Linked DNA regions of Homo sapiens: regions 1, 3 and 4 are each linked to region 2. Evidence: promoter capture Hi-C in human tissues and cell types (Jung and others, 2019). All regions are on one chromosome and are shown on one strand. Each heading gives the region's core, a stretch centred on a gene start or on the middle of the fragment in contact. The rest is flanking DNA. Distances are from core to core; before and after follow the strand shown. Region 1 overlaps ZFYVE28 (zinc finger FYVE-type containing 28). Region 2 holds the start of SH3BP2 (SH3 domain binding protein 2). Region 3 overlaps RNF4 (ring finger protein 4). Region 4 has its middle 6.4 kb from the start of FAM193A.

Evidence for each region. The method cuts DNA at HindIII sites, captures the fragments that hold promoters and counts their contacts. A contact is called where the count stands out against the background at its distance.
Region 1: a contact is called between a fragment that was not itself captured here and the fragment with the promoter of SH3BP2 in region 2, in 1 of the 25 tissues and cell types used here (H1 embryonic stem cells).
Region 3: a fragment that was not itself captured here is called in contact with the fragment with the promoter of SH3BP2 in region 2 in 1 of the 25 tissues and cell types used here (spleen).
Region 4: a fragment that was not itself captured here is called in contact with the fragment with the promoter of SH3BP2 in region 2 in 1 of the 25 tissues and cell types used here (mesendoderm cells).

What each region holds. Positions count from the first base shown.
Region 1 is chr4:2,379,963-2,384,648 of GRCh38, reverse strand. The region is part of intron 1 of ZFYVE28 (zinc finger FYVE-type containing 28); the gene reads left to right. Among named protein-coding and RNA genes, the nearest start is that of ZFYVE28, 36 kb to the left of the region's middle. The HindIII fragment of the contact is 4,819 bases long and covers 76-4,686 here.
Region 2 is chr4:2,790,735-2,795,982 of GRCh38, reverse strand. SH3BP2 (SH3 domain binding protein 2) reads right to left here and starts at 2,898. Exons shown (of 13, transcript NM_001122681.2): 1 at 2,845-2,898. RefSeq lists a silencer at 2,831-3,180. The HindIII fragment of the contact is 44,064 bases long and covers 1-5,248 here.
Region 3 is chr4:2,487,551-2,492,975 of GRCh38, reverse strand. RNF4 (ring finger protein 4) reads right to left here. Exons shown (of 8, transcript NM_002938.5): 2 at 2,474-2,639. The coding sequence starts at 2,482. Among named protein-coding and RNA genes, the nearest start is that of RNF4, 21 kb to the right of the region's middle. RefSeq lists enhancers at 2,662-3,442, 4,794-4,903. The HindIII fragment of the contact is 4,826 bases long and covers 1-4,774 here.
Region 4 is chr4:2,527,718-2,532,711 of GRCh38, reverse strand. No RefSeq gene overlaps it. Among named protein-coding and RNA genes, the nearest start is that of FAM193A, 6.4 kb to the left of the region's middle. The HindIII fragment of the contact is 7,357 bases long and covers 1-4,994 here.

The DNA of each region.
Region 1 (4,686 bases), core at 1,236-3,735, 410 kb after region 2:
CTACCTTCCCACCGGGCCCTGAGGGGTCGGCCCTCTGTGCTTCTGCTCCCCCACCCCATCCAGCACTCCCTCAGGAGGAGATTCCTGCTTGGGTGCTGCCTGGTCCCTTCCCCTCCTCTCGTTCTTGCTTAAACTCACTCCTGCTCCCAAACTGCATTTGTCACGGTCCTGGTGGCCTGCCTGTGCCCCCTCCAGTGGTCAGTCACAGCCCTGTCCTGGGAAACCAGGCAGCTGGAGTGACCCTGGGCAGCCCTGAGCACTTGTTCACTCCCTTGGCGGGTGGTCACTTCCCTCTGACCCTTCTTGAATAACTTAATCTGTAGGGTACAGAAGCTTTCACACTTTCCTACAAAACCAGTTTCCTCTTCGCAGATAAAGGGAATTCCTTCCAGAAAGTTTCTTCTGTCAGCAGTGCAGTCTCGGTTCCTCAGCGTTTGTCGAAGTACCCGGGGAGGAGAGGGCTCTGTGGCATTGACTTTGGCTGACAGTCCCGGGGGCCTCTTCCCTGTGGGTAGAATGTGGGAACCCAACACTGCATCTACTCTGTGTACCCCAGTCCAAAAATCACTCTGCCTGTGTGGGACATGTGCCCTACCCTCTTGCCTGTCTTCCTCAAGGCCCTTCTTTGCAGAACAGCCCCAGTGGAGACACTTCAGGGTGATGGGGACATCTTAGGTCATCAGGGCATCATTGAGAGAGACTGTGAGTGATGACCCTGTGTGACGACCTCATTTTCTCCAGTCTTGTGAAAGAATGGCTCCTGGAGATGGCTCCTGGAGAGCGAGTGTCTGTAACACACGCCAGCGACACCACACACAGAGAAAGGCCCTTAGCCTTGTCTGTCAGGGTCTCTTAGGAATAGAATATTCTAGATCTGTGGAAGGCCTGCTGGAAAATCCCAACCAATGTGAAGCGTACCTCCTCCTTCCAGTGTGTGGCCTGCCATTCACTCCAGTCTGCACTGATGGTGCCAAGGCTTTGACACTTGAAGCGTGATATGAAAAGATAAAGGCATTTTAACAGAAGATACCGGGTCAGTGGAGGTGACCGAAAGCAGCATTTGATTCCCCAGGTCATCCTGGGCATTGGGATAAGTGCGCTGCCACTAAGGGAAAGGAGTATTAGTCTGTTTTCACGCTGCTGATAAAGACATACCTGAGACTAGGAAGAAAAAGAGGTTTAATTAGACTTGTAGTTCCACGTGGCTGTGGGGCAGGGGGCACCTCAGAATCATGGCGGAAGGCAAAAGGCACTTCCTGCGTGGAGGTGGCAAGAGAAAAATGAGGAAGATGCAAAAGTGAAAACCCCTGATAAAACCATCAGATCTCGTGAGACTTAGTCACCACCATGAGAACAGTATGGGGGAACCACCCCTATGATTCAATTACCTCCCACCAGGTCCCTCCCACAACATGTGAGAATTATGGGAGTACAATTCAAGATGAGATTTGGGTGGAGACACAGCCAAACCTTATAATTCCGTCCCTGGCCCCTTCAAATCTCATGTCCTCACATTTCAAAACCAATCATGCTTTCCCAACAGTCCCTGTTATGGCTTGGCTGTTTCCCCGCCAAAGTCGCAACTTGAATTATATCTCCCAGAATTCCCACATGTTGTGAGAGGGACCCAGGGGGAGGTAACTGAATCATGGGGGCTGGCCTTTCCCATGCTTTTCTCGTGATAGTGAATAAGTCTCAGGAGATCTCATGGGTTTATCAGGGGTTTCTGCTTTTGCTTCTTCCTCATTTTCTCCTGCTGCTGCCGTGTAAGAAGTGCCTTTTGCCTCCTGCCGTGATTCTGAGGCCTCCCCAGCCATATGGAACTGTAAGTCCAATTAAACCTCTTTTTCTTCCCAGTCTCCAGCGTGTCTTTATCAGCAGCCTAAAAATGGACTAATACAGTCCCCCAAAATCTTAACTCATTTCAGCATTAACCCAAAAGTCCACAGTCAAAAGTCTCATCTAAGACAAGGCAAGTACCCTTCTGCCTATGAGTCTGTAAAATCAAAAGCAAGCTAGTTACTTCCTAGATACAATGGGGGTACAGGTATTGGGTACATATAGCCATTCCAAATGGGAGAAATTAGTCAAAACAAAGGGGTTACAGGGCCCATGCAAGTCCGAAATCCAGCGGGACAGTCAAATCTTAAAGCTCCAAAATGATCTCCTTTGACTCCAGGTCTCACATCCAGGTCACCCTGGTGCAAGAGGTGGGTTCCCATCGTCTTGGGCAGCTCCACCCCTGTGACTTTGCAGGGTACAGCCTCCCTCCCAGCTGCTTTCACAGGCTGGCATTGAGTGTCTACAGCTTTTCCAGGCAAATGGTGCAAGCTGTTGGTGGATCTACCATTCTGGGGTCTGAAGGACGGTGGCCCTCTTCTCACAGCTCCACTAGGTGGTGCCCAGTAGGGACTCTGTGTGGGGGCTCCAACCCCACATTTCCCTTCCACACTGCCCTAGCAGAGGTTCTCCATGAGTGCCCCACCCCTGCAGCAAACTTCTGCCTGGGGATCCAGGTGTTTCCATGCATCCTCTGAAATCTAGTGGAGGTTCCCAAACCCTCATTGTTGACTTCTGTGCACTCGCAGGCTCAACACCATGTGGAAGCTGCCAAGGCTTGGGGCTTGCACCCTCTGAAGCCATGGCCTGAGTTCTGCATTGACCCCTTTCAGCCATGGCTGGAGCAGCTGGGACACAGGGCACCAAGTCCCTAGGCTGCACACAGCACAGGGACCCTGGGCCTGGCCCATGAAACCATTTTCCCCTAGGCCTCTGGGCTTGTGGTAGGAGGGGCTGCCCTGAAGACCTCTGACATGCTTTGGAGACATTTTCCCAGTTGTCTTGGGGATTAACGTTCAGCTCCTCATTACTTAAGCAAATTTCTGCAGCTGGCTTGAATTTCTCCTCAGAAAATGGGTTTTTCTCTTCTATCACATTGTCACAGCTGGATGCAGTGGCTCACGCCTATAATCCCAGCACTTTGGGAGGCTGAGGTGGGAAGATCATTTGAGGTCAGGAGCTTGAGACCAGCCTGGCCAATACGGTGGAACCCCATCTCTACTAAAAATACAAAAATTAGCCGGGCATGGTGGTGCGTGCCTGTAGTCCCAGCTACTCAGGAGGCTGAGTCAGGAGAATTGCTTGAACCTGGGAAGCAGAGGTTGCAGTCAGCCAAGGTCACACCATTGCACTCCAGCCTGGGTGTCACAGCGAGACTCTGTCTCAAAAACAACAACAACAACAAAAACTGTCAGGCTGCAAATTTTCCGAATTTTTATGCTTGGCTTCCCTTATAAAACTGAATGCCTTTAACAGCACCCAAGTCACTTCTTGAATGCTTTGCTTCTTAGAAATTTCTTCCCGCAGATACCCTAAATCATCCCTCTCAAGTTCAGAGTTCCACAAATCTCTAGGGCAGGGGCAAAATGCTGCCAGTCTCTTCGCTAAAACATAACAAGGGTCACTTTTGCTTCAGTTCCCAACAAGTTCCTCATCTCCACCTGAGACCACCTCAGCCTGGACCTTATTGTCCATGTTGCTATCAGGCATCTGGTCAAAGCCATTCAACAAGTCTCTAGGAAGTTCCAAATTTTCCCACATTTTCCTGTCTTCTTCTGAGCCCTCCAAACTGTTCCAACTTCTGCCTGTTATTCTCTTCCAAAGTTGCTTCCACATTTTCGGATATCTTTTCAGCAATACCCCACTGTACTGGTACCAATTTACTGTATTAGTCCATTTTCACCCTGCTGATAAAGACATACCTGAGACTGGGATGAAAAAGAGGTTTAATTGGACTTACAGTTCCACATGGCTGGGGAGGCCTCCGAATCACAGCAGGAGGCAAAAGGCACTTCTTACATGGCAGTGGCAAGAGAAAAATGAGGAAGATGCAAAAGCGAAAACCCCTGATAAAACCATCAGTCCTTGTGAGACTTATTCACACGAGAACAGTATGGGGGAAATCACCCCCATGATTCAAATTATCTCCCACTGGGTCCCTCCCACAACACGTGGGAATTACGAGAGTATAATTCAAGATGAGATTTGGGTGGGGACACAGCCAAAACATATCAAAAGGTGGCCCACAGGACCAAGGAGCGGACAATGCCAATGACAAATCCTTCAAACCAGGTGGTTTCTGCTGCTTTGACTTCAATAAAATTGAAGAAGGACTTGGTTGAGTTGCAGCTGACAGGGCGTTAAGAATGACTTTTGGTCATGAAGCAATGATTCTTAGCCGATAACTCGGCAGTTGTTCTTGGAGTGGCAGGAAGTTCCTCTATTGCTCTCCCCGCTCCTGCTAACTCAGCCATGAGAGCAGGTTTCTTGGCACTTACCTAAGTCAAAACGCAGGAACAGCATTGCAGCTGAGGCCAGCCTACTTTGGCAACTAGTGAGTTACCCAAAGAGACAACAGCTAGTCAGAAAACCCCGGATGCATCCACCCCATCAAGAACTACATTTCTATGAGACACCTTTCTGTGAAATGATGGTGTACCAAGATGTGTCACATGTTTATGTTGTTTGATCGATTGTATACTAATACTATTAGGTTGTTGCAAAAGTAATTGCAGTGTCTACATTGTCGACTCAGTGCAGAGAAAATGCTAACACTCAGTGCCTCACAGAAAATTTAAAAATTTGACCAGCCTGGGCAACATGGCAAAACCCCATCTCTACTAAAAA
Region 2 (5,248 bases), core at 1,649-4,148:
GAGCCTGAAATGCTCCCTACCACCCCCTCTGGGACTTAGGCAGCCCACACGTGGGACTGTCTCCAGCCCCTCGGTGTCCAGACAGGGCCACCAGAAGAATGCAGAGGCCTTCTGGGGAGGAGCCGCCTATCCTGGAGGAAGGATTCCAGGGTCTGCACGGCCCCTTCTCCTTGCCTCCCAGGCCCCTCCATACCCTCACCACACCTGGCATGCAAAGGCCACTCCCGTCAAACTGGTCTCCCACCCTCCCTACCGCCCGCCTTTGGCTTAGTCTGTCTGTACCTGCATGGCTGCCCGCCCGGCTCAGATCCCTCCTCCTGACGGCCCACCCTGTATTCATTGGCCCGAGGGGTGGGAGCCGCTCCACTGCGTCTGGGGTAGGACAGCTCTCACCTTGTGGCAAATTCCCCGTCTTTTCCCCGCCAGCCTGCCCTTCTCCTCACCCACCCAGGCTGCACAGTGATGGCCAAGCCACCCGGTTATTAAAGAACTATATACTCTGCCAGGCGTGGGGGCTCACGCCTGTAATCCCAGCACTTTGGGAGGTGGGCAGATCATGAGGTCAAGAGAGGACAGAGAGTGAGGAGGGCAGAGCCTGCCACACATAGTCACTGACCTGGGGTGTCCCCACAAGGGAGCTTTTGAGGACAGAACGCAGGAAGACCCAGGGGCTGCCCAACACTGGCCACTCCTGATGGACTCAGGCCTTAGTCCAATGTGGGCAGGAACCTGGGAGCCTTGGCCTTTACCCAGGCCTCTCCAGGCCAGTCCCTGCCCCCACCCAAAACAGGACATACAGCGGCCCTGAGGACCAGGGAGAGCACCCTCAGCGACCCACTGTCACTGAATACCAAGCACATGTCACCACCACCACCATCCCCCCTACGGACACTCATAGCCACCCACCAGGTACAAAGTGCTTCACAGCCCTCAGGTCATGGATGAGAAAACGGAGGGGTGGCAGGGGGAAGCCTCCTGGCCATGATCACACAGCTGGAAACTGGTGGCATCTGAGTTCACACCCAAGATCCTGGCTGAGTTTGCGCCCTTCCTCCCTGCCCCTCAGGAACCAAGGCTGGCCATCTCGTCTCTCTGGGCCCCTGGACTTCCCGTCTGTGGGCCTGCTTGTGTGCGTGCATCCCTGGGGGGTGGGGAGCTCCAGCTGACTCAGCACCCTGCTTCCTCTGTCCATGTGGGCAGAAAGGGCCAAGGCAGGCCCAGAGCCTGTCCTCCCTCTGTCTGCCTCTTCAGGCCAGCCTCCTTGGTGGGCTCCCCCATGATCCTGGAGGCCTGGGGACTCCCTGAAAGGCCAGGTCCCCTGTCAGCACCCCTCTCACCAGATGGCCCTGGCTGGCAGTTCCTAGACACGGCTGCCTATCTGTCTTCCTTCTGCCTGCCCCCTCCAGGGTGTGCCTAACGCAGGGCACAGAGCCAGGCAAAGGGAGCCTGGCGGGTGGCAGGGAGAGGGGATAGACAGAATCCTCACTCCCTTGCAGCCCTCGTCCCAGGCCTCCTGTCCTGCCAGGAGTGGAGTGCCTGGAGTGGGGCCCTGAGGTTGGGCTCCAAGAGGGCCCTTCGACGGTGTCTACGTAGAGGAGACAGTGGACAGAGTGGGAAGAACCAGGAGGGGGTGGAGCCCAGCCCCTCCTCTGGTCCCACAGGGCCTGAGCCAGTGAGGGCAGGAGCTTGTCCAGGCTCATGGAGTTGGTGCAGGGCTGACCTGAACCCAGAGGCTTGCTTCGGCAAGGAGGAGGCTGTGGGCCCTGCCTTCAGGCGGTTGTGGAAACAATTCTACACATTGCATCACCGGCCCATGTCACCTGCAAGGCCACACACATGTCATCCAGGCAGGCTGTCCACCCCAGCAGCCCACACGGAGTACCCGCCCCTGGCCACAGCCAATTCGAAGGACTTAAGTGTGGCCACTAGACCAGGAGGCACAGCTGTCCCCAGTGTCAACAGATGAGCAAACTGAGGCACAGAGAGGGGATAGGAGGTGCTCACGGAAAGGAGCACCAGCAGAAGGCTCCCCACAGCAGGGCTCAGGCCCTCAATACCCCCAGGGAGCCGAGGCCCAGAGCAGCGGGAAAGTGCTGGGCTGCAGGGAGGCCAGCGTACAGGTGGAAGGGGCTGTCCCCGCCCCCTAACTCCTCCAGTCCCTCTGCCACCCCTGAGATTCCCTGTTGCCCATGAGAGTCTCAGACGCCCGGCTATCAGTCACTCACACTTCAGTGTGAATCAGCGCCAGTGGGCGGCTTTTCTTGCCCTCCGTGAAGCGCGGCCGCTGCAGAGGGAAGTTTGGATTCCGGGAAGGGCGGAGAGCGAGTGCCCGCCGCAGCCTTTGAGTCTTGTGGGGAGGGTCGCGTAAAGGGGCCCCGCCGCGGGGCCAGAGGGGCGCGAGGGGTGCGAAACAGACGCGTCGCACCGCCTCCCACCCCTGAGCCCCCGGCAAGGGACACCCGGCCCCCGCCCCGAAGCCGCGCTCCCTCGGGCACTGCCCGCCGTGCCCAGGCCCCGTGCGTCCTTTGGCAAGGACACGGAGGCCCCGGGGCCCGGGGGAGGCTGCTGCGCACCCGAGACCCCCGACACCCGCCCATACCTGCCGGGACCCTGAGACTCCCCCGAGACCTGCCAAGACCTGCCGGGACCCCTGAGACTCCCCGGAGACTCCCCCGAGACCCCCGAGACCCGCCGAGACCTGTCGGGACCCCGAGACTCCCCCGAGACCCCCGAGACCCGCCGAGAGCCCCCAGACCGCCAAGGCCCGCCGAGCCCCTTCCAGACGCGGAGACCGCCCCCCCGCGAGACCCCCGAGACCCGCCGAGACCCGCCGCCGAGGCTTACCCGCCGAGCGCTCTCCTGGCCCGCGGGCCCTGGGTCGAGGCGGCGGCTTGACTCGGCCGCCAGGCGCTCCCGCCCGCGGGACCCGCCGCCGCCGCAGCTCCGTCCCGCCCGCGCCCGCCCAGTCCGCCCTCCTCCTGGCCCCGCCCCGGCCCCGCCCCTCCCCGGCGGGTCCCGCAATCCTGGAGGTCCGAGCTGGGCGTGGGGCGGGGCCGGTACCTCAGGGTGGGCGGGGAACTGCACGTGGCCTCCGCGGCCCCGGGACGAGGCCCCTGGGGGGCGAAGACTGGCGTTGTCGCGGGCCTAGACGCCGGGTCCACAGTAGGTGCTTAGTTCTCGCCCGTGAGTGAGGTAGCGTGTCTGTCCCTCCTGCGTGTCCCTCCCAGTGACACCCCAGTGCCCAGCGACCCAGGTGGAAAGGGCGCTGTCCACCCCCCCAGCCCCGTGGTCCTGATCCTGGGCGGCCCCACCCCTGCCCCGTGAGTGCGACTTAGGCCCTGGCCAAGACAGGAGCAGGGGAGGTGGGGGAGGGCTTGCTGGGCACCAGGAAACCTTGTCTTTGTTTCCAAATGTCCTCCAGGGTACTTTTCAGGCACTTCCCAGGGGGACCTCGCCTCTTGGACCAGGTCTGGACTCCGGTGGCCCAGAGGTCGTCTTGGGGCTGGGAGGCACAGGAGACCGGGTGCTTTACACTTGGCCTCCTCTGAGGCTCCCTTTCCTCCACCATCACCCTCTCCCTAAGAGTAGGCCCAGATGCCTTGGTGTAAGGGCAGGGGCGAGAAGAGGAGGGGCTTCCTGGGAGGAAATGGCTTCCCTGGGGAGCTCTCAGGGCCAGGTAGGTGGAGGGAGCCGTGGAGAAAGTGAAGAGGCTGGGGAGACCAAGCTGGGCCTGCAGAGCTTGAGGGCGAGCGGACCCCCCACCAGTGCGGGAGTCAACTGCTTGGGGCGTGGGGGGACTCCTCCCCATGAGGAGTGGGGACTGGACCCCAGGTCCCAGAGCCCAGGAAGCTGTGAGTAGAGGAAGGACAGGATCTTGCTGGGAACCCAAGGGAGCTGGGGGTGGGTGGTGGTGACCTGGCCCTGTCCAGGCAGGCGGCCAAGGTCTGACCCTCTGTACTGAGCACAAGAGGCCAGAGTCCAATGACAGGGGCTGAATTGGCTGCTCCAAATCAGGCAGGGGCAGGGGTGTCCAGGGCTGGCCCTGCAGCAGGTGAAGGACTGGGTTTGGGTCCTACAGGTTGAAATACCTGAGGGCCTCCAGGAGACACAGCCAAACCAAGCGGGTTCTCAGGGTTGCAGCTGGACCGAGTGTGGGCCAAGTCACCGTCCACCTGTCCCAGAGCTGCCCAATAATGGGTCCCAAGCCTCAGAAAGGGGATCCCTGGCTGCAATAGCCCTCCTCCCTGCTGGAGAGACACACTTGGGATCAGAGAGGTTAACTGGGGAGGGGAGTAAGTGGGAGGAGTCAGAAAACTAGGTGGCCAGGCCCTGAGCCCAGGCATAGAGGAAGAGCCAGTGCCTACCAGGAAGTGACCAGGACCAAGGCAGGGCCTCTGGAAGGGAAGGGACAAAGCAGGGGATGGCAGAGGCAGGGGAGGATATGGGAGAGTCTTCAGACAACAGGGCCCCTTTTCCCCATCTGTGAAATGGAGGGGGTCCTCTACTGGGGAGGCGGCAGAAGTGGATGGGGCATGACAGCAGGCAGATACTCACTCTACCTGGCCCAGGGCCACCCCTCACACCGGCGCTGGGGCTGTGACTCTACCCACCTACAGCCTAGCTCTCGGGGCTGAACTTAGACCCCAGTGAGGGAGTAGATGGGTGCTGGCTGGCTGGGGTGCTCACTCTCTGGGGTGCCTGCTCACATCCCCACCTGTAAGTGTCCTGGGCCTGGCTCCCCAGGTCTCAACTCTGCTCATCCCAGCATTGGGTAGCCTGCAACTCTTCTGCCCACCCCCCACTCTGGGCTATTTCACATTTTCCTAGCAGGGAGGAAGAGATAGGAACTACAGCCATTGTGGAAGTGGCTGGGCTCAGCCCCATCCGACGTTCAGTGCTGCCACTGTTAGCACCGCATGGGGCTGCGTCACTCCTGTAAGAGGCCACATGCGGAGGGAGCTCCAGGCTGGGCCAGACTGGTCTAAGGCTCCTGACAAAACACTCATGACCTTGGGGCTGTACATCTTGATGTCCCTGATGTCCAGTTCAGCTAAATAAATGCCTGGCCCCACACCAGACCCCGGGGACCCAAGATGATACAAGGAAGTCCCTACCCTTGTGGCTCACGAGAGGAGCAAATGGACAAATGAGCAGATGCCATTGGGTCACAGCAAGTGTCCTGTTCCCAGGGGACCAGCTGGGGAAAGGGGCAGAGACCGGGAGGGGAGTGGAGCAAAGCCAAACGTCG
Region 3 (5,425 bases), core at 1,112-3,611, 300 kb after region 2:
TATCACAACCACATAAGCTATAACCACACCGTAACTTTCAGGAATTTTAACCAATTTCTTCACACACATGCACAAAAGGCTACATTGTTTTGCCTGTTCTGATCTGGCCTAAGCAGAGATGGGTTAAGGCTTAAAGCACCTATTTCCCCATAGGTGAGCTACATGGTAACCTGCAGGTGAAGCACCAAGGTGGGAGGTCAAAGAAGTGGGCTTTTTTGTGTATCACCATCAAAAGTGGGCCCTGGAGCACAATGGCGGCCAGGAAGTAACAGAAGAGGGTGAGGACCCAAAAGGCTCAGAGGGTGTGACCAGCATTTCCATCACTGTTCCCTCTGACAGCTGTTTGTTCAGTCTCACCTGTCCCCACCATCCATCTTCCCATACCATTCACAGTACTTCTGGAGCACTGGAAGAAATCAGCAGGCTATTTCACATCTGGTCTGTCTGACAAGGAATTCAGGATCTCAGACAACAGATGTTTTGAGTTTAGATCATTTGAACAAACTTGCAGTGAGAACTCTGTCAGTAGAGAATAAACTGGGACAGGGGGACCTTCAGGTAATCTCCTCGAGAGCTCAAGGGGTTCCAGGAGACACCTGAATTACACCAAACCAGAGCTGTCTCACAGATGTGATAAAAGCTCTAAACAGTCTGGGTATTGTCGCTCACTCTGGGAGCCTAGGTGGGAGGACTGCTTGAAGCCAGGAGTTCAAGATCAGCCTGGGTAATAAAGTAAGACTCCATGCCTACAAAAATGATTTTTCTTTTTTTTTTTTTTGAGATGGAGTCTTGCTCTGCCCCCAGGCTGGACTGCAGTGGCACGATCTCAGCTCACTGCAAGCTCCGCCTCCCAGGTTCATGCCATTCTCCTGCCTCAGCCTCCTGAGTAGCTGGGACTACAGGCGCCCGCCAACTATGCCTGGCTAATTTTTTGTATTTTTAGTAGAGACGGGGTTTCACCGTGTTAGCCAGGATGGTCTTGATCTCCTGACCTCGTGATCCGCCCACCTCGGCCTCCCAAAGTGCTGGGATTACAGGCATAAGCCACCGCACCTGGCCAATTTTTTCTTAAAAATTGGCCAGGTGCGGTGGTGCATGCCTATGATCCCAACTACTCAGGATGCTGAGGTGAAAGGATTGCTTGACTCCAGGAGTTGGAGACTGCAGTGAGCTATGATCACACCACTGCACTCCAGACTGGGAGACTGAGTGAGACCCTGTCTCTTAAAAACAAATAAAAACGGCTGGGTGCGGTGGCTCATGCCTGTCATCCTAGCACTTTGGGAGGCCAAGATCACTTGAGGTCAGGAGTTTGAGACCAGCCTGGCCAACATGGTGAAATCACATCTCTACTAAAAATACAAAATCAGCTGGGTGTGGTGGTAGGTGCCTGTAATCCAAGCTACTCCGGAGGCTGAGGCAGGAGAGTCGCTTGAACCTGGGAGGCGGAGGTTGCAGCAAGCCGAGATGGTACCACTGTACTCCAACCTGGGCAACAGACTCCATCTCAAAAAACAAACCAAAATAGCCTGGCCAACATGGCAAAAACTGGTCTCTATTAAAAATACAAAATTAGCTGGGCGGGGAGGTGCATGCCTGTAATCGCAGCTATGTGGGAGGCTGAGGCACAAGAATCACTTGAACCCAGAACGTGGAGGTTGCAGTGAGCCGAGGTCGGGCCACTGCACTCCAGGCTGGGTGACAGAGCGAGACCCTGTTTCAAAAACAAACAAACAAAAGCGCTAAACAGTAATTATAATGACGAATCAACTTTGGTCAGTGAATATAAGAAACTTTTCACTATGGATTATTACTACCATGCTCACACTGAATGAACCAAGAATGTCACAGGGAAACAAAACAGACGGGAAAACAGAAAACTGGGTTGCAAATACTTTATAGAGTCTCACTCAGTCATCCTGCCGAAATGCAGTGGTGTGATCATAGCTAGCCTTGAACTCTTGGGCTCAAGGAATCTTCCTGCCTCAGCCTCCCAAGTAGCTGGGACTACAGGTGCGCCCCACCACGCCTGGCTACATTTTGTTTGTTTGTAGAGATGGGGCCTATGTTGCCCTGGCTGGTCCTAGGCTCAAGTAATCTTTTTACCTTCACGCCTCCAAGTGTTGAGATTACACATGAGCCACCATGCCCAGTCTACAAACAATTTTAAAAAGCAAAAAGTTTTAGTATTTCTATGACACTGACAACTGTTGTGAAGGTCTGAGATTACCAAACCCTAAGCTATTCCTTCTCAGCCTTTTGTCTTCAGGGCTCTGCCCTTTATGACTCGAATGTAGCTCAATGTCGGTAAGTAAGCTGATGTAACCACCAGAAAGCTCCTATACATACTCCTTCAAGAAGTGGGGTTACTTAGAAGTGACATTATGGAACTCACTTTCACTAATGTGCTACAAGGAATAAGGTAGTTAATTAGCCCTACAAAATTAAAAATTCAAGAGATGATAAAACTTACTGTACTCATTGTGCTCTTTGGTGCCTTTCCTTTCCTACAGAAAAGGAAGTGATCTATACCAAGGTTTGCAGGGAAGTCAAATGTTCTCAACCTTTCATGCCCTCTGGTTACTCATCTGGCTTGCAAAATAATTTGGATCCGGACAGATTTCCAGTATTTTCAAGTCCTGAAAAACAAAGATATTAATTTGATAAATACTGCCACTTACATCATTGAAACAAAGCTGAGCTCAATAATGTACTGGTCCTTCCTGTCCCTAGGTTATTTGCTTACTATTTCACGCAATGACATCCTTAATCCTATATTCATCTTAGGAAGTAAGCATTCTTGTCGCATGTAGGACTTCCTGATCCCAAAGCCTGCAATTGTAATTATTATGCCACCTCCTACTCTTCTTCCTGGCTCCTGCCACCTTGGCAAGGTACCGTGCTAACTGCTGGGAGGAGGTGCGAGTCAGGACTGCCACACATGACCACACCAACTCCTCAGGAACCAGAAGGGAAGGGACAGAGCTTCTGAGGCCACAGCTCAGAGCCTCAGGTTCTTCCCACAATTTCACTGTCGCCGTCCGGAGTTGAGAAGACAAGAGCCACTCACTCTAAAGCATGTTGTGTGTCCAGCTGAGACTTCTGTTGCTGGGACCAGGTGAATGGTGAATCGGGAGGCTGTGGACTAGGCAGCCAAGCAGAAGCTTTGAGGAAAGGCAGAGAAATCACCAGATGCAGAGGCTGCGAGGCCCTTGGACTTCACTGAGAAGCGAGGCCGACCACGGTAAACTCAGCGTCAGCGACGCATGGTTAATGGAGCCACAAAGCCCTGAGCACAGGCAAGCCTGAGGGTTGAGAGAGAGCCAAAGCAAGGACAAGACCCTTGTGGCCACCCACTGCTGGGTGCTAGTGGCTTAGATTAGGAGAGTGCTTCTCAAGCATGAGCCTGTATCAGGCTCCCCCACAGAGGGCTCGTTAAGCACAGCCTGCTAGGCCCTCCAATTTACGTATCTAACAAGTTCCCAGGTGCTGCTTCCAGAGACCACACCATGGAACGTACTGAAGTAGCATAACGAGATGGAGTTGCAAAACAGACACAGGTGAGAGGGATCCAGGTGGCGGAAACGACAGGAACGCTCTCACATCCACCCTTCTGTGCATCCCCAGTGCTGTGCCGTGTCATCCTCCTGTGCACCATTACCATGCCTGCTCATGCTGGGTCTCCTGTCCCTGGGTGCCCGTCTACCCTACTGCCAGGCCATCTTTCCGAAACATTTGCCGCAGCAACTTTCCCTGGCTCCTTATCAAGGCCTAACTCCTAAGCATGGTGTGTGGAGCCAGGCTGGCACTGCAATTAGGGCACATCTCTTGAGCCAGGCAACTGAGATTGAAATCCAGGCATCGGCCGGGTGTAGTAGCTCACACCTGTAATCCCAGCACTCTGGGAGGCCAAGGCGGGTGGATCACCTGAGGTCAGGAGTTTGAGACTAGCCTGGCCAATATGGTGAAACCCCGTCTCTACTAGAAAATACAAAAAATTAGCCTGGAGTGGTGGTGGATGCCTGTAATTCCAGCTACTTGGGAGGCTGAGGCAGGAGAATCTCTTGAACCTGGGAGGCAGAGGAGCCGAGATCATGCCATTACACTCCACCCTGGACAACGAGAGCAAAACTCCATCTCAAAAAAATAAATAAATAAATAAAAAATGAAAATAAAATCCAGGCACCTGCAAACCCCAACCTGTGACCTTGGGGCATGGCATTGAACTTCTCTGTGCCCCATTTCCTTATCTATAGAACAGAACTGCACCTACCTTAATGGTGTGTGAGGATTCCAGAAGTTATTACAAGAGAGTGTTTGGAACAGTGCAGGCACACTGGAAAGGCTCAGTGTCTGTGGGCTGACACATACCCATCACCACACTCAGCCCCACAGCACCAGGTTGGCAGTCTCTCCAAATAAACCTTCCCAGTGACCAGCTCCAACCTTCTGCTCAAGCCCTAAAATGCTGTGTGATATCACATCCCACTCAGTTTTTTTTTGTTGTTGTTGTTGTTGTTTTTGAGACGGAGTCTCACTCTGTTGCCCAGACTGGAGTGCAGTGGGCTCACTGCAACCTCCACCTCCCAGGTTCAAGTGATTCTCCTGCCTCAGCCTCCCAGTAGCTGGGACTACAGGCATGTGCCACCACACCAGGCTAATTTTTCTACTTTTAGTAGAGATGGGGTTTCCACCAGGTTGGCCAGGCTGGTCTCGAACTTCTGACCTCAGGTGATCCACTTGCCTCGGCTTCCCAAAGTGCTGGGATTACAGGCATGAGCCACCACGTCTGTCCTCCCACCCAGCTTTAAGAAAGGATGCATACCTCCCCGCCTCATTCACAGTACAGCCCCTGCCCTGGGAATACAGCAATGAGCAAACACAGCCTCTGTGCAGAATCTAGGGCGGGGAGAAGGGTGAGGAGGGTGCTGGCAGGCAGCTATAACGAAGTTAGGAACTAAGTGTGCAAGAAGTACAGGAGGAGAAAGGGAGGCCAGAGTAGGTTTTTCAGGAGATGCCCAAAGGGACCGCCGTCCCAGCTGAGCTGAGCATTTTCTTCAGCACTTGGTCGTCTGGTTCTGAGAAAATGGCATACTGTATCTCACTCCCTGAGCGCCTCATTCTCTAGCTTGACCTCAATGGTTTAGAGGGGAAATCCCCTTCACTGTTTCACTCTAATAAAGGGTGACTTGCATCTCCTTAGGCTGGCCCATACTATGGGACTACGGGTGCTCTCAACAGAATGCACAAATGGGGCAGGCACAGTGGCTCATGCCCTATAACCCCAGCACTTTGGGAAGTTGAAGAGGGAGGATCTCTTGAGCCCAGGAATTGGAAACTAGCTTGGTTAACATGGTGAGATCCTGTCTCTATAAAAAAATTAAAATAATGAGGCTGGGCAGTGGCTCATGCCTGTAATCCCAGC
Region 4 (4,994 bases), core at 693-3,192, 260 kb after region 2:
CCGCCTGCCTCGACCTCCCAAAGTGCTGGGATTACAGGCGTGGGCCACCGCGCCTGGCCTACACCTGGGTAATTTTTGTTTTTGTTTTTGTTTTTGTTTTTTTTGAGTCAGGGTCTCACTCTGTTGCCCAGGATAGAGTGCAGGGCATGATCTCGGCTCACTGCAGCCTCTGCCTCCCAGGTCCAAGCAATTCTCCCACCTCTGCCTCCCAAATAGCCGGGATTACAGGTGCACCACCATGTCCGGCTAAGTTTTTAGTACAGACAGGGTTTCACCATGTTGGCCAGGCTGATCTCGAACTACTGACCTTGTGATCCGCCTGCCTAGGCTTCCCAAAGTGCTGGGATTACAGGCGTGAGCCACTGTGCCCAGCTTAGAATAGTGGTTTCTAGAGGTAGGGAAGAGTAGTGGGGAGAGGGAGATAGCCAAAGGTTGGTTAATGGATACAAAAGTACAGCTTGAGGCTGGGCGCCTTGGCTCACTCCTGTAATCCAGCACTTAGGGAGACCGAGGCGGGCGGATCACCTGAGGTCAGGAGTTTGAGACCAGCCTGGCCAACATGGTGAAACCCCGTCTCTACTAAAAATACGAAAATTACCTGGACATGGTGGCACACGCCTGTACTCCCAGCTACTTGGGAGGCTGAGGCAGGAGAACCACTTGAGCCTGGGATATGAAGGTTGCAGTGAGCTGAGATTGTGCCACTATAGCCTGCCCAAGAGAGCAAGACTCTGTCTCAAAAAAAAAAAAAAAAAAAACAGTACAGCTTTGTAAAAGAAATGAGTTTAGTGTTCTATGGCTGGCACTATAGGGTGACTGTAATTAACAAAAATTTACTGTATATTTTCAAATAGGCAGAAGAGTAGATTATGAATGTTCGCAACACAAGGAAATAATAAATGTTTGTGGTGATGGATATGCTACTCTGATCATTACACATTCTATACATGTATCAAATTATCACACTGTACTTCATAAATATGTACAATTATATGTCAATGAAACATAATAAGGGCAAAATAAAAAGAATTTATATAACAAAAACGTTTTTAAAATAATGCATTCTTTGGCCAGGCACAGTGGCTCACGCCTGTAATCCCAACACTTTGGGAGGCTGAGGTGGGCGGATCATGAGGTCAGGAGATCAAGACCATCCTGGCCAACATGGTGAAACCCCGTCTCTACTAAAAATACAAAAATTTAGCCAGGTGTGGTGGCAGGCGCCTGTAGTCTCAGCTACTTGGGAGGCTGAGGCAGGAGAATCGCTTGAACCCAGGACGCGGAGGTTGCAGAGAGCCGAGAGCGCACCACGGCACTCCAGCCTGGGCGACAGAGTGAGACTCCATCTCAAAAAAAAAAAATTCCTTTTCATTGCTCAGTGGTATTCCACTGCATGGATGTCTCATAGTTTGTTTATACATTTATCTGTTGATGAATATTTTGGTTGTTTCCAGTTTTTGGTTATTACAGTTACTATCAACATTCATAAATTAAAAAAACCGAAAAACAAACAAACAAAAACACCAGAACATTCATGTACAAGTCATCATATAAACACGTTTTCATTTCTCTTAAGTAAACACCTAAGAGTGGTCATATGGAAGAGATATGCTTACCTTTTTTTTTTTTTTCTGAGAAAGAGTCTCACTCTGTCACCCAGCTGGAGTGCAATGGCACAATCTCAGCTCACTGCAACCTCTGCCACCTGGGTTCAAGGGATTCTCTTGCCTCAGCCTTCTGAGTAGCTGGGATTACAGGCACCTGCCACCACACCAGGCTAATTTTTTTGTATTTTTAGTAGAGATGGGGTTTCACTGTCTTGGCCAGGCTGGTCTTCAACTCCTGACCTCGTGATCCACCCACCTCGGCCTCCCAAAGTGCTGGAATTACAGGCATGAGCCTTTTTTTTTTTTTTTTTCTTGAGATGGAGTCTCGCTCTGTCGTCCAGGCTAGAGTGCAGTGGCGCTATCTCGGCTCACTGCCAGCTCTGCCTCCCAGGTTCATGCCGTTCTCCTGCCTCAGCCTCCCGAGTAGCTGGGACTACAGGTGCCTGCCACCGCACCTGGCTAATTTTTTTGTATTTTTAGTAGAGACGGGGTTTCACTCTGTTAGCCAGGATGGTCTCGATCTCCTGACCTTGTGATCCGCCGGCCTCGGCCTCCCAAAGTGCTGGTATTACAGGCGTGAGCCACTGCACCCGGTCCAACTTTATTATTTTATTGTTTATTTTGAAATGGGATCTCACTCTACCACCCAGGCTGGAGTGCAGTGGCTCAATCACAGCTTACTGCAGCCTGGACCTCCCAGGCTCAAGTGACCCTCCCATCTCAGCCTTCTGAGTAGCTGGGACCACAGGCACCTATCACTATGCCCAGCTATTTTTTTATTTTTATTTTTGTAGAGATGGGGTCTCACTATGTTGCCCAAGCTGGTCACGAACTCCTGGGCTCAAGTGATCCTCTGCTATGGCCTCCCAAAGTGCTGGGATTGCAGGCGTGAGCCACTTCATCCAGACTATTCTTTCCAATGTTGTTTTGCATATTCATATTCATATGAAATTCCTGTGAATTTCATGTGAATTTGAGAATCAGCTTGTCAATTTCTTTAAAAAAATCTGGTCAATTTTAACAAAGATTGTGGTAATGTACAGATGAATTTGTAGATAGTGATATCTAAACATTATTGCATCTTCCAGTTCGTGAGCTATATTTATATACATTTATTTAGTCTTAGCAATGTTTTGAGGTTTAGTGTACTTGCCTGACACATCTTTTGTCAGACTTATTCCTATGTATTTCATATTATTTTATGCTAAACTCTCCTTTTGTTTAGTTTTGCATTTTAAGAAATTGTTGGCCAGGTACAGTGGCTGACACCTGTAATTCCAGCACTTTGGGAGGCTGAGGCTGGCAGATCACAAGGTCAAGAGATAGAGACCATCCTGGCCAACATGGTGAAACCCCGTCTCTACTAAAAATACAAAAAATTAGCTGGATATGGTGGCGCGCACCTGTAGTCCCAGCTACTCAGAAGGCTGAGGCAGGAGAATCACTTGAACCTGGGAGGTGGAGGTTGCAGTGAGCCAAGATCAAGCCACTGCACTCCAGCCTGGCAACAGAGTGAGAAACCGTCTAAAAAAAAAAAAGAAAAAAAAAGAAATTGCTATAAAATATGTATAATACAAAACTTACTTTTTTTCTTTTTGAGACGAAGTCTCACTCTTGTCCCCCAGGCTGGAGTGCAATGGTGCGATCTCAGCTCACTGCAACCTCCACCTCCTGGGTTCAAGCAATTCTCCTGCCTCAGCCTCCCAAGTAGCTGGGATTACAGGCACCTGCCACCACGCCCGGCTAATTTTTGTATTTTTAGCAGAGACCGGGTTTCACCATGTTGGCCAGGCTGGTCTCAAATTCCTGACCTCAGGTGATCCGCCCGCTTCGGCCTCCCAAAGTGCTGGGATTACAGGTGTGAGCCACCACATCGAGCCAAAACTTTTTTTTTTTTTTGAGCTGGAGGCTTCCTCTGTTGCCCACACTGCAGTGCAGCAGCGCAATCTCTACTCACTGCAACCTCCGCCTCCCGGATTCAAGCGATTCTCCTGCCTCAGCCTCCCTAGCAGCTGGGATTACAGGTGCACGCCACCACAGTCTGCCAAGTAGCTGGGACTACAGGCTCGTGCCACCATGCCTGGCTAAGTTTTTGTATTTTTAGTAGAGATGGGATTTCACCGCATTAACTAAGATGGTCTCGATCTCCTGAGCTCGTGATCCACCCACCTTGGCCTCCCAAAGTGCTGGGATTACAGGTGTGAGCCACAGTGCCTGGCTTTTTCTTTTTCTTTCTTTTTTTTTTGTTGAGATGGTGTTTCGCTCTTGTTGCCACAGGCTGGAGTGCAATGGCGTGATCTTGGCTCACCGCAACCTTCACCTCCTGAGTTCAAGCAATTCTCCTACCTCAGCCTCCCGTGTAGCTGGGATTACAGGCATGCACCACCACGCCCGGCTAATTTTGTATTTTTGGTAGATACGGGGTTTCCTCATGTTAGTCAGGCTGGTTTTGAACTCCTGACCTCAGGTGATCCGCCCGCTTCGGCCTCCCTAATTTTTGTAGTTTTAGTAGAGACAGGGTTTCACCATGTTGGCCAGGCTGGTCTCTATCTCCTGACCTTGTGATCCACCCACCTCAGCCCTCCAAAGTGCTGGCATTTCAGGCATGAGCCATCGTGCCCAGCCAAAACTGACTATTTTAATCATTAAGTGTACAACTCCGTGGCATTATCTATATTCAGAATGTTGGGCAACTTTTACCACTATTTTCAGAACTTTTTTTTATCATCTCAGACAGAAATTCTGTAGCCATTAAACAGTAACTTTACATTCCCCCTACCCTCAGGCTGTGGTAACCTCTACTGTTTAAATTTTTCATTTATTGTTTTTTAGAGAGAGCGTCTTGCTCTGTCATTCAGGTTGGAATGCAGTGGCACCGTTCATGGCTCACAGCAGCCTTGACCCCCTGGGCTCAAGCAATCTTCCCATGTGAACCCCTGGAGTACGTAGGCCATTTATATACCTTCTTTGGAGAAATATCTATTTAAGTCCTTTGTCCATTTTCAAATTGGGTTGTCTGTGGTTTTTTTGTTTGTTTGTTTGTTTTTTGAGATGGAATCTTGCTCTGTTGCCCAGGCTGGAGTGCAGTGGCGCGATCTTGGCTCACTGCAAGCTCCGCCTTCCAGGTTCACGCCATTCTCCTGCCTCCGCCTCCCGAGTAGCTGGGACTACAGGCGCCCACCACCACGCCCGGCTAATTTTTTGTATTTTTAGTAGAGACGGGGTTTCACCATGTTAGCCAGCGTGGTCTCAAACTCCTAACCTCGTGATCCACCCGGCTCAGCCTCCCAAAGTGCTGGGATTACAGGCGTGAGCCACCGCACCTGGCAGGTTGTCTGTTTCTGTTGTTGAGTTGTAGTACTTTATATATTCTGAGTATTAATCCAA